Linked DNA regions of Homo sapiens: regions 1, 2 and 4 are each linked to region 3. The links are contacts of gene promoters, found by promoter capture Hi-C in blood cells and fetal thymus (Javierre and others, 2016). All regions are on one chromosome and are shown on one strand. The core of a region is centred on a gene start or on the middle of the fragment in contact, and the rest is flanking DNA. Distances in the headings are between cores, read along the strand shown. Region 1 holds the start of LPCAT4 (lysophosphatidylcholine acyltransferase 4). Region 2 has its middle 6.2 kb from the start of GOLGA8A. Region 3 holds the start of EMC7 (ER membrane protein complex subunit 7). Region 4 has its middle 13 kb from the start of GOLGA8B.

What was found. The method cuts DNA at HindIII sites, captures the fragments that hold promoters and counts their contacts. A CHiCAGO score of 5 or more calls a contact.
Region 1: the fragment with the promoter of LPCAT4 here is called in contact with the fragment with the promoter of EMC7 in region 3 in 2 of 17 cell types (neutrophils and non-activated CD4 T cells); the score reaches 8.4 in neutrophils.
Region 2: a fragment that was not itself captured here is called in contact with the fragment with the promoter of EMC7 in region 3 in 4 of 17 cell types (activated CD4 T cells, total CD4 T cells, total CD8 T cells and 1 more); the score reaches 7.3 in activated CD4 T cells.
Region 4: a contact is called between a fragment that was not itself captured here and the fragment with the promoter of EMC7 in region 3, in 2 of 17 cell types (fetal thymus and activated CD4 T cells). The highest score is 8.3, in fetal thymus.

What each region holds. Positions count from the first base shown.
Region 1 is chr15:34,365,946-34,368,766 of GRCh38, reverse strand. It overlaps LPCAT4 (lysophosphatidylcholine acyltransferase 4), which reads left to right and starts at 1,571. Exons shown (of 14, transcript NM_153613.3): 1 at 1,571-1,780. The coding sequence starts at 1,667. RefSeq lists enhancers at 527-816, 416-1,411 and silencers at 1,187-1,236, 1,367-1,826, 1,947-1,996, 2,077-2,166. The HindIII fragment of the contact is 20,785 bases long and covers 1-2,821 here.
Region 2 is chr15:34,442,614-34,445,313 of GRCh38, reverse strand. No RefSeq gene overlaps it. Among named protein-coding and RNA genes, the nearest start is that of GOLGA8A, 6.2 kb to the right of the region's middle. The HindIII fragment of the contact is 1,853 bases long and covers 524-2,376 here.
Region 3 is chr15:34,100,488-34,103,247 of GRCh38, reverse strand. EMC7 (ER membrane protein complex subunit 7) reads left to right here and starts at 1,386. Exons shown (of 5, transcript NM_020154.3): 1 at 1,386-1,644. The coding sequence starts at 1,409. PGBD4 (piggyBac transposable element derived 4) reads right to left here and starts at 1,165. Exons shown (of 1, transcript NM_152595.5): 1 at 1-1,165. The coding sequence starts at 716. RefSeq lists enhancers at 956-1,045, 1,076-1,775, 1,385-2,242. The HindIII fragment of the contact is 6,792 bases long and covers 1-2,758 here.
Region 4 is chr15:34,595,081-34,597,966 of GRCh38, reverse strand. No RefSeq gene overlaps it. Among named protein-coding and RNA genes, the nearest start is that of GOLGA8B, 13 kb to the right of the region's middle. The HindIII fragment of the contact is 960 bases long and covers 871-1,830 here.

The DNA of each region.
Region 1 (2,821 bases), core at 322-2,821, 270 kb before region 3:
CCGGGAGACGGAGGTTGCAGCGAGCTGAGATCACGCCATTGCACTCCAGCCTGGGCAACAGAGCAAGAGCGCGACTCCGTCCCAAAACAACAACAACAAAAGACAAACACACACACACACACACACACACACACACACACACACACACACACAAACTTCTCCCCAAAGGCAAGGCAAGGGAGACTAATACATGCAGTTGTACTTTCTCGGTTCTGGTGAGAAAGCTGAAATCATCTGCTTAAAAAAAAAAGGTTTGGGTTGTACATGGCGGCTCACTACCTGTAGTCCCAACAGTTTGGAAGGCCGAGGTGGGAGGCTCACTTGAGGCTAGGAGTTCGAGACCAGCCTGGGCAATATAGCGAGACCCTATCTATACAAAAATAAAATGTGGAAATGATGTATTTGTGTTGGGACCTCTGTGTTATATACAAAAACATCCCAGTGCAGCTCCTTGGTCTCAGTAGGATGCATGAGCCTTCAACCCTCTCAGCCTGGGCTCAGAAAATTTCCTGGAGCAGATTAATTTGGAGTTTGGTTTAAAGGAGAAGCCAGTGGCGGCAAACACTCTTGGTTATGAGAGGTCTCTTTTTCTTTCACTTTCTTCCTTCAGCTCCCCTAACTGCCATGCAATGGGCAGAAGACATAAAGTGAACTTAAGGCGTATTCTTTCCTCAAGCAATGAGACTCTTACCCCTTTTGTCATGGCAATGGATCTCAGAGTCCACTTAATTCCCTGGTCCCTGATCTCAAACGATGGCCTGAGGCTAAACAATTTGTTTTCTAGGGTAGCTTGGAGCTTGTGGGTGAGGGGAATTACTACTGTGTCCTCTGCGTTCACCCAGAGAGTGACAGAGATCAGGAACCACTGCCTCTCCCCTGCCAGACCTTGTCGGGCTCATGGGAAGCACATGCGTCAGTGTACTAGGGATTCCTGGCGCCTCAAGGGTTCAAGCAACCCTCACACCAGTAAAGGCGGCCCTGCCTAGCACAGGCAGGACGCGGAGGTGGAGAGTTGCGGGGCGCCATGCAGCCGCCAGAGGACGCAAGTGCCTCAAGTCCCCGCGCGATGGCGCCCCACGGACCGGGAAGGAAAGGTGGTCCGCCTGCGAGGAGGCGCGGACCGGGCCAAGGAGCCCATAGGAAGAGCGGGGCGCCGCCTCACCCGCGAGCTGCCGGCCTCTGCATCCGGCCCACCTGTCCCTCCCTGCCTACCAACCCAAGAGCCTCACCCCGATCTGCGCTTGCTGGGTGACCTCGACGCCCGGGCGGGGACAGAGGGCGCTCTGAGCTCTGCGCTCAGCTCCCAGACCCACTCCCACTCCGAGGCGGAGGCCAGGTCTTCAGAGAGGAACGACGGAGGCGCAGAAGCCCAGGGGCAGCCCGCTCCAGCCCTGGCAGCCGCGGAACAATGGCCCGAGCGGCTGCGGGCGCCGCGGCGGGCGCGGAGGAGCAGGGGCGCCAGGGCGCTGGAAGCCCCGCCCCTCGGCCGGCGCCCTGACAACGCGGGCGGGCTGGGCTGCGCCGCCTGCTCCCCGCCCCTCGGCCGCCTGCACCGGGCGGGGCCCGGGCCAGAGCGCCGCCGCCGCCGCTGCTGCAGCAGCAGCTGCTCTGCAGAGTGGTGGCCGGGGCCAGGGCCGGGGTGCCCTCCCTCCCACCTTCTCCCGCCATGAGCCAGGGAAGTCCGGGGGACTGGGCCCCCCTAGATCCCACCCCCGGACCCCCAGCATCCCCCAACCCCTTCGTGCATGAGTTACATCTCTCTCGCCTCCAGAGGGTTAAGGTAATGTGTGGGGAGCGGGCGTCGGAAGGACCCGTGAGGATAGGAAAATGGGGCCATTTGAGCCCTGGCAAAGGTGGGCTTGGGGATCCACGAGAAGGAGATGGCTGAGAGGCTTGCGGAGCGGGAGTCCGGGGGTGCGCACGTGGGGGCGGCCGCGGTTGGGCAAGGAGTCCTGGAGAGGACGCTGCGGGCTTGGGCGATAGACAAGCTCGAAGATGTGGAAAAACTGAGTAGGTGGGGATGGAGGGCTGCAGGGGACCCTGGGGTTGGAGAGATGAAGGACGCTGGGGAATGCGGATTACATTCTGCAGAGCCTGATGGCTAGGATGGAGTTAGAGTCTACGGGAAGCCGGGGGTGGGGGCGGGGGCGGGGGCGTGCCGAGTATTCCTCCGAGGCATGACTTAGAGGGAAGACGTTTCTGGGCCGGGAGCCTGCGACCCTGTGCCCTTCCTACACTCCCTCTTCCCACTCCCTCCAACCCCCCTCCACCCCGCACTGCAGCACCTCCCGGTGGGGGCAGGGAGGCTGAGAGGGAGGTTGGCTACAGGAAGTGGAGGGCCGCGCCAGCCTAGGGGAGCTGGGAGGTGGTGTGGGGAGGGAGTGTCCAAGGTTTCTGCTGTCATCACCTCCCCGGAGGCAGGCTCCAGGGGCTAGGTTTGCTTACCTGCTTCTTCCCCAAGGCAGCCTATGGAGTCATCCTGGCTCCTGGCAGCCTCTCTCCCTTGCAGAGTGGGGCCGAGCTCTTGTCTCCCATATCCCCCGGTACTCTAAGATTGCTGTTGAGCAGTGTCAGAAAATGACCTCGGGTCTGAAAACTGGACCTCTGGCTGTTTACAGCCCTCTGCCTCCTAGGCCCAAAGTGGAAAGATCTGTGCACCTGGTTTCTGTTGGGCATAGGAGCTATTTATGGAATAAGATGTGGGGGAGGAGGACCTGTCTCTAACCTACTGTACATCAAGCACAGCGCCCTGCACTTTCGCATGCATTCTTATTAAATCCTCTAAGTGCTAGATGCTTTTTATGGCTTTCGGTTTTATAAA
Region 2 (2,700 bases), core at 201-2,700, 340 kb before region 3:
GAATCCAGTTACCCTTATAATAGGCCACTGAAGTTATCCCACTGATGTTCTCTTCCCATTTTTATTTTTCATTTCAGATACTTTCTATTGTTAAACAATTACATTCACTGTTTTTTTACTGCAATTGATAATCTGCTTTTGATTTCATCCAGTATAGTTTTCATCTAAGACATTGTTTCCATGTTTGTTTGATTAATCCCGAGAAGATGATTTCACATTTTGCTCTCTCTTTCATGTCTCTCATTTGATGCTTTCCTCTACCTTTTCAAACATAGATACCTGTTTTAATGTCATTATCTACTAATTTTAGCAACTGTGTCATTGTGGGTCTGTTTCTCTTGATTGATTTTTTTCTCTTCAATATGTATCATTTTTCTGCCTATTTCTATGCCTGATATATTCTTATCGAATGCTGGACATAGTGAATTCTACCTTATTTTGTGCTGAATAGTTAAGCTTTATTCTGGGATGCAGTTAAATTACTTAGGAATAATTTGCTTGTGTTGAAGTTTGCTTTTAAGCTTTGCTTGGTAGAACCAGAGCACCTTTCAGTCTAGATAGAATTGTTTCCACATTAGTGAGACAATATCCTTCTGAGTACTCTAACTGATTCGAGGATTTTCTACCCTGGCTAATGGAAACACAAACTACTTATGACCTTATGTGAATTCTGGAGACTTTTTTGCCTTCCCTTTCTAGTGGTTTGTACCCTGGCCTTGACCATTTCCTCACATACTTGTGTTGATCAGTATTAATTGGAAGATTCAATAAATCTGCACATCCCCTGAAAATCTCTGAAGCTGTCTCTGTGGATAGTTTTCTGATCTCTGTTATTCTTCTTTGTGAATTCTTGCTGCCTTCTTTTTCCCAAACTCTCATCTCTAACATGGAGAACTTAATTTTGCAATCAATCAGCTAAATTTAATGATCAGATTTCTCTTCAGAAAAATTATTTTTGTCAGGAATCTGGAAAGTGAATTGGAATGGATAGGACTATTAGGAGATATTACATTCCAGACGAAGAATTGTGACGGCTGTGACCAAGACAGTGCAGTGAGAGTGGAGAGGAGGTCATGGATTAATCTGCTGTTTTTTGTGGGGGGCAGGGGGTAGACAACAGTTGGTTATCAATTAGTTGTGAGTAGTGAGGGGAAAAGAGAAAGGTTGGCTCCAAGGCTCTTGGCCTAGGTAATTGGTTGAGAATATGGGCTATTCATCAAAATAGGAAACACAGGAGGGAAAAGACAATGTTGAGCATGGAAGAAGGAAAATGAGCTCAGTTTCCCACATACTAAGTTTCAGATGCATGTGAGATATCCAAGGGAGAATAGATAATCAGTAAGTTGGTTCCATTCAATTTTCAGTAAGTACCTATCATATGTCAGGCATTTTGGTAGGAACTTGGAGGTGAAGGATGAATAAGACGCGGTACCTTCCATTGGTGTGGAATACAAGACATCTGAAGCAATATATAAAATTTTGGACAATGGTTGTAAGTATAAAAATTAGGAAGTGCAGATCAATAAAACAAAGGTTTTATACCCTTTCATCCATGAATAAAGCCCCCAGTACATTTTCAGAAACTTTTGGCCTCCACTTAATACAACGTTCAGGTTAGCTCTGACTCTCAGCCAAAGTAATTTTCTGCTTCTGCTTCAAAGTATAAGGTTAGAAGCAGGGAGGGAACTGCTAAAGGCAATTAATTATATTTTCAGTAGTGTGAAGTGATTGCTGACAACTTGACAAGAAAGGCAAAGAAACAAAATACAGAGAGCATAGCTAAGCTCAGCAATATAGGTCCTACATATATCAAAATCTCTGTGTTTACTGCTGTATTGCAACCCAAGATGATAATGATTTTTTACAGTGATACCTTTCCACCATCAAGAAGAATTTTCATTGTATCTGCTTATTTTACGCAATAAATGTTTGATGCAAAATGAATGCTTAATAGATTTTTATGATGATTTCTTACAAATGCTTTGTTGACTCGTTAAAACACAAAAATATATTTCTACAATACCACAAACTAGGAATACTGGTTGGAGATCGTCCAGACTTCAGTAGAAAGGTTAATTAATAAAAAGGCAGATGAGAGGCGCACATAGAACAGTGAATCCTTCTGGAGAAAGAAAAGTAGATGACATTTTAATGTATTCATTCTATGTATAATTCATCTCCATTTGTCTTGGCCATTATTGACCACGGTCATTGCGAAAGACCTGACTTAAAAATGGTCATGATCATTTAATTCTTCAAATTTACCGTTATCTCCTTTTATTCTGCATTGATTTGAGGCCTCGAATTCCAAGAAGTTCAATATAGGTGAAAAATTCAAGTGAATGTGGATGTGCTTTATGTTTAGGAATGTAAGCTTGGCAGAAGGAAGGCGTGAAGCCTGGTAAAGATGTGTATCACTTCTAATTATCTACAATTGATAAAGGGCTGGACCTATCAAAAAGCCTTCTGCCTGAGATCTGTTGAGAACTCTACGAATAATCAGATGGGGTTATAGTTTGAATGTGTCCCCCAAAGTTCATGTATTAGGAACTTAATCAGTCACCAATGCTACAGTGGTGAGAAGTGGGACCTTTAGGTACATACACACATACATACACGGTTTGTACATTGTCACTTTTCATCTTTTCATATTTTGCCTTCCATAACATGAAGAAATAAGATGAAGAAGTAAGAAAGCCC
Region 3 (2,760 bases), core at 137-2,636:
GTGGAAAATTTATTTACAAGAAAGTCGAACACAGGTTTGATCTTCTGCAATGAAATCTGGGCCTTTGATTGACCAGCAGATATAGAAGAATTGTTGACAAAATGCAGGCACCGAAACAAAAGTAAAAATCTTTCACCAGTCATAATTTGCCTGAGATAAGGTGTATCCAAAAGAGGCCTTGTTGACCAAAACATCTCCAGCTCAGGTTTCTGCACAATACCTTGCAGTAACATTACTGCAAAAAAGACTTTGAGCTCGTCATTGTCAGTGTCTTTCCATTTATCCATTCGCGAAAATCCTTTCGGACCCGGTGGCTTTGAAGCCAACAAGGCAGCTTGGGCATTTGTTTCTCTAGTAATTTTTGAAACTAATTCCTCAGTAAAGAACAGTTCAAAATACTGCAATGGGTCAGTGATATCACTGACATCGACTTTTCTGCCAGGTGTGCCGGTAAAGTCATACCTTTGACGTGGAATCATAGCACGAGCTGACCATTTCATGGAGCGCCCTGAGTCACTTGATGTAGAGCTCTTTCCATCAGATTCTAAATGGGACAGAGGCCTGATCTTATCGGCTTCTAAAGCACTATCCGAAAAATTATCAGAATCATCTATTTCCGAAAAATCAGATTCATCAAATGAATCTTCAGCCAACAACTGTTCGAGACCGGTATTACTATCACGCATAGGAATGCTACGTTTTCTAGGATTTGACATTTCAGCGATCGAGAATTACTATATTTTGTAGATGGAAATCCCACTACTAAAAACAGAATGCTATAAACAGAATGATGTCTTTTGTTTCAAAAGTCAATATACCAGAACCATGCGAAAATAACAGAAGCGAGATATTTCGTGGCAAACTTTGGGAGTAAGGTTGGCACTGTAATCCACGAGTTATCTCGGCGTAAACGCTGCAGTCGCAGGCACAGCAGCGCGTAATCTCGGGGCTAAGGAGAAATGAGTTAAACGCACACAGACAGAAGAAGCCTTTCATCTCATACGTCTTGGGGAGTCTCTAGAAGTTTTTTGAAAGGTCTCTTCTGGATGGTGTTTCTCCCGAAGCCAGTCTCGTCATCTTTTACTCCCGTGAGGTCCTTGGCCTCCGTGGCTGCCGCAGCAACACACACTTGACTTTCACTTCATGGGCAGTCCCCTTCATAGGCACTTGACACAGGCTCTGTGCGCCGTCTTCCAATCCAGAGTGCCGGGAGTTAAGGGCAGTACTTCCGCCTTACTTCCGCCTCGCTAGTCGATCGGCCATGATCTCTTCCCTCTGGTTGGATCCCACAGCTTATGACAGAAACGGGCGCGCAGTGATGACAACATCAAGCCGCCAGCGGCGGCGGTGGCGGCCGGGAGACTGGGAGGGCTTCCGGGGCTGCCGGTCTGAGTGCAGAGCTGCTGTCATGGCGGCCGCTCTGTGGGGCTTCTTTCCCGTCCTGCTGCTGCTGCTGCTATCGGGGGATGTCCAGAGCTCGGAGGTGCCCGGGGCTGCTGCTGAGGGATCGGGAGGGAGTGGGGTCGGCATAGGAGATCGCTTCAAGATTGAGGGGCGTGCAGTTGTTCCAGGGGTGAAGCCTCAGGACTGGATCTCGGCGGCCCGAGTGCTGGTAGACGGAGAAGAGCACGTCGGTTTCCTTAAGTGAGCATCCTGAGGGCAGCGGGAAAAAGGCTGGGATGGAGGCCGGACAGGGACCCCACCAGGAGAGTTAAGTGTCAGGACGGGACAACGTCGCTGTCTCAGACTGAAGGGGAGGGTGCCGCTAACGGTCTATGCCGGGAGACCTTGGGAGGCAGTCGGATGCTTTCCCTTTCCTGGTCCTGTACCTCTGGAATGAGCATGGCAGGCGCTCACCCCCTGCCATGGTCAGAGCATGGAGTCAGTTATTTCCAACCTTATTTTGGCCCCATGTGGGGACGATCATTCCTGGGCCCTGGGGACAGGTGGACCCTTATTAGTCTCTTGTTGGATTCTTTTATATCTCATCTGGTTTCCCTAGAACCTAGTCGTTTTTTGCATTCACTTCAGTCTTTTGGTAGCTTGTTATTATGTAGAAAGATGCGACACAAGTGGGAATTCTCAAAACCCAAAGGGCTTCTAGTGACGACATAGACTGGGAGGCTAATGTTACTGCTTCTAAAATTAATAGGCTCTGAAATCCCTAATCAAAGCACTTTTTTTTTCTTTTTTTTTTTGCTTGGGGGTGGGATCGTTGTTCTTTTTTACAGTTGAATTCATCGAGAGATTTGCTATATCACACTTGTCATTTATGTGAGACTAGGGTTCCTCTACATTGCTTTCTTGCTTCTGTCCTTTCATGCTATTAGTGGAAGTGGGTTTTCTGTCTATATTAAAAGACAGGATGAATTTGTTAGCACTAGTTTTGCAGCAGCCTGCTTTTGAAATGTCTAGGCACGCGTATGTTGTTTTAAATCTTTCCACCCTTACTTGGAGGTGAAACTGTAAACTGAAAGCAAATAATTAGGAAGTATTTCCTTTGGTGGGTTCGTACACCAGCAAATGGTATCTGAAAATCAGACAACTTAAATGTAGACATTTAAATCCAAATCTGATTTACATATTTGTTCAGATCATCTAAGTGCCCTTGAGTGGTTATTCAACCTCAGATTAATAAATAGTGACAAATTTACAACCAGTATTTTACTGCTGTCTGTCATTAAGAATCTGGCATTAGGGCATTCGTTAGAGTTTACCCTAATTAATGATGTTTTAATGATAAAGTTCTCATTAAGCTTT
Region 4 (2,886 bases), core at 101-2,600, 490 kb before region 3:
AAGACCAGCCTGGCCAACATGGTGAAACCCCGTCTCTACTAAAAATACAAAAATTAGCCAGGTGTGGTGGCATGCACCTGTAGTACCAGCTACTCGGGAAGCTGAGGCAGGAGAATCGCTTAACCTGGAAAGTGGAGGTTGCAATGAGCCCAGATCGCACCACCACACTCCATCATTGGGGACTGAGTGAAACTCCGTCATAAAAAATAAAATAAAATAAAATCACAATATCTTGTATGCTTGACAATTGCTAACAGAGTAAACTTTAAGTGTTCTTACTATGAAAAAAATAAGTATTTTAGGTAATGTATATTTTAAATATCTTTAAATATCAAAACATCATGATGTGCATCATAAATTTATACAATATTTACTTCTCAGTTAAAAAAGATGAGTAAATAAATCATTTTAAATGTCCATCACAGGAAACACCTTTAGAGTAACTCTGTGGTTTTGCTTTATTCACAGAGCTTTTTGTTAGAACTGTGGAAAGGAATTACAACATAGAGTGCTAGAAGCACAAGTGGCCTAATAATAATTTTTATTTTTACTGTAAGTACTGGCATATCTGACACATCTGTCCTATTGTTGAGTATGACACCTTAGGAATAAATGTGACTGGAAGTCATTCATTTTGAGGTGACTCTTAAGAGTCTTAGGGTCCTGAAATCAAGAACCAGGCAGATCTATCTACTCTGACACTAAAAAACAGATCCTAAAATAAATTTCAAGAAAAAAAATTAGATACCAAAGATTTCTAGTTGGGGAACTTTTGAGGTTGTCATCAATATGTCCATATTCAAATGGAGATCAATGAAGACCAAATAAAAGAATTGTGGGCTACCTTGAAGATAAATCATGACTCAAGCTTTTGAGGAACTAAGGTGACCTTCACAGTCAGTGGAAAGAATCACAATATGTAAAGTTCTTTCGATAAAAGTATACTGACTTTGGGCTGGGCACAGTGGCTGACGCCTGTAATCCCAACACTTTGGGAGGCTGAGGTGGGCGGATCACCTGAGTTCGAGACCAGCCTGGCCAACATGGCGAAACCCCATCTCTGCTAAAAAAAATAAAAATAAAAATTAGCCGGGCGTGGTGGTGCCTGGCTGAGGCACGAGAATCGCTTGAACCTGGGAGGTGGGGATTGCAGTGACCCGAGATTGCGCCACTGTATTCCAGCCTGGGCAACAAGGTAAGACTCTGTCTCAAAACAAACAAACAAACAAACAACAACAACAACAATATATACATATATATGTGTATACATATACGTATATATATGTGTGTATATATATACGTATATATGTGTGTATATATATACGTATATATGTGTGTATATATGTGTATATGTGTATATGTGTATATATATGTGTTTGTGTATACACACATGTATACACATATACACATATATACATATACATATATGTATATGTGTGTGTGTGTATGTATGTGTGTGTGTATATATATATATATATATATATGCTGATTGAATAACCTTGTCTAATATTACTGCTATGGTTTGAATATGGTTTGTCCTCACCACAACTCACATTGAGGCTTGGCCCCCAATGTGGCAAATGTTGGGAGGTGGTGCCTTTAAGAAGTGATTAAGTCTTTAAGAGGAATTAATACCTTTTTCTGGAGACTGGTTTAATTTAGCAGGAATAGATTAGTTCCCCAAAAATAGGTTGTTATAAAGTGAGTTTGCGTCTTGTGTGTTTTGCCCTTTTGTGAAAGCGCCTAGCTCCCCTTCTATTACTCCGCTGTGTTTCCTTTGACTCAGCATGAGGCCCTTACTAGAAGCTACCAGATGCAGCTGCCCAAGCTTAAACTTCCCAGCCTATGGTAGGAACTCACTATCCTATCTCACTATAGGATAGTGAGCCAAATACACCTCTTTTGTTTATAAATTACCCAGTCTCAAGTATTCTGTTATAGCAACACAAATGAACTAAAACAGGTACACATAATTTTTATTAAAAATTGAAAGCCCTTTACATTGTTTGTATAGTGGAAAGTCAGCATGTATTTTTACCTCAATGTTTTGCTAGTGTTTTCTGTATTTCTTAGGGAATAAAGCTAAGTTTAGCAGGGGGGAAAAAAAGATTTTATTCCTTTCCAAAATTCTCACAATAGAAAAAATTAATGCTAAATAACTGTGTGTTTTTAGTTCCAATTATCTGGAAAAATTGTTTTCATTTTCTGCCTCACCTTGATACATTATAAATACTATTTAAGATCAGACCTATTGAGCAGCCAGACCAATATTATTTTTTATGATGTTATCAAAGGGCTTTTTGAGTAAATGTACAGTTCTAATTTGATAAATTGGAAAGCATTAAATTGCTCTTAAACATATTAACTTTTCTTATTAACCTTTATAAATTAATTATCCATAAATTTCCTTAAAAGTAAGATTTCTCTTTTTTTTTAATTTCTTTTTTCTTTTTGAGACAGACTCTAGCTCTGTCACCCAGGTTGGAGTGCAGTGGCGCGATCTCGGCTCACTGCAACCTCCACCTCCCAGGTTTAAGCAATTCTCCTGCCTCAGCCTCTGGAGTAGCTGGGACTACAGGCCCTACCACCATGCCCGGCTAATTTTTGTACTTTTAGTAGATACAGGGTTTTGCCATGTTGGCCGGGCTGGTCACCAACTCCTGACCTCAGGTGAGCCAGCTGCCTCGGCCTCCCAAAGTGCTGGAATTACAGACCTGAGCCACCATGCCTGGCCTAAAAGTAAGATTTCAATATGTGCTGTATCATAGAATAAAAGCTATTAATATTTAAAAGTTAACAACACACTGTGTAACACAAAGTTTCCTTTTATTGCCCCCAAATGCATTGTTTTGAATATTTAAGTGTTACCACTGGTGCAATATTCTG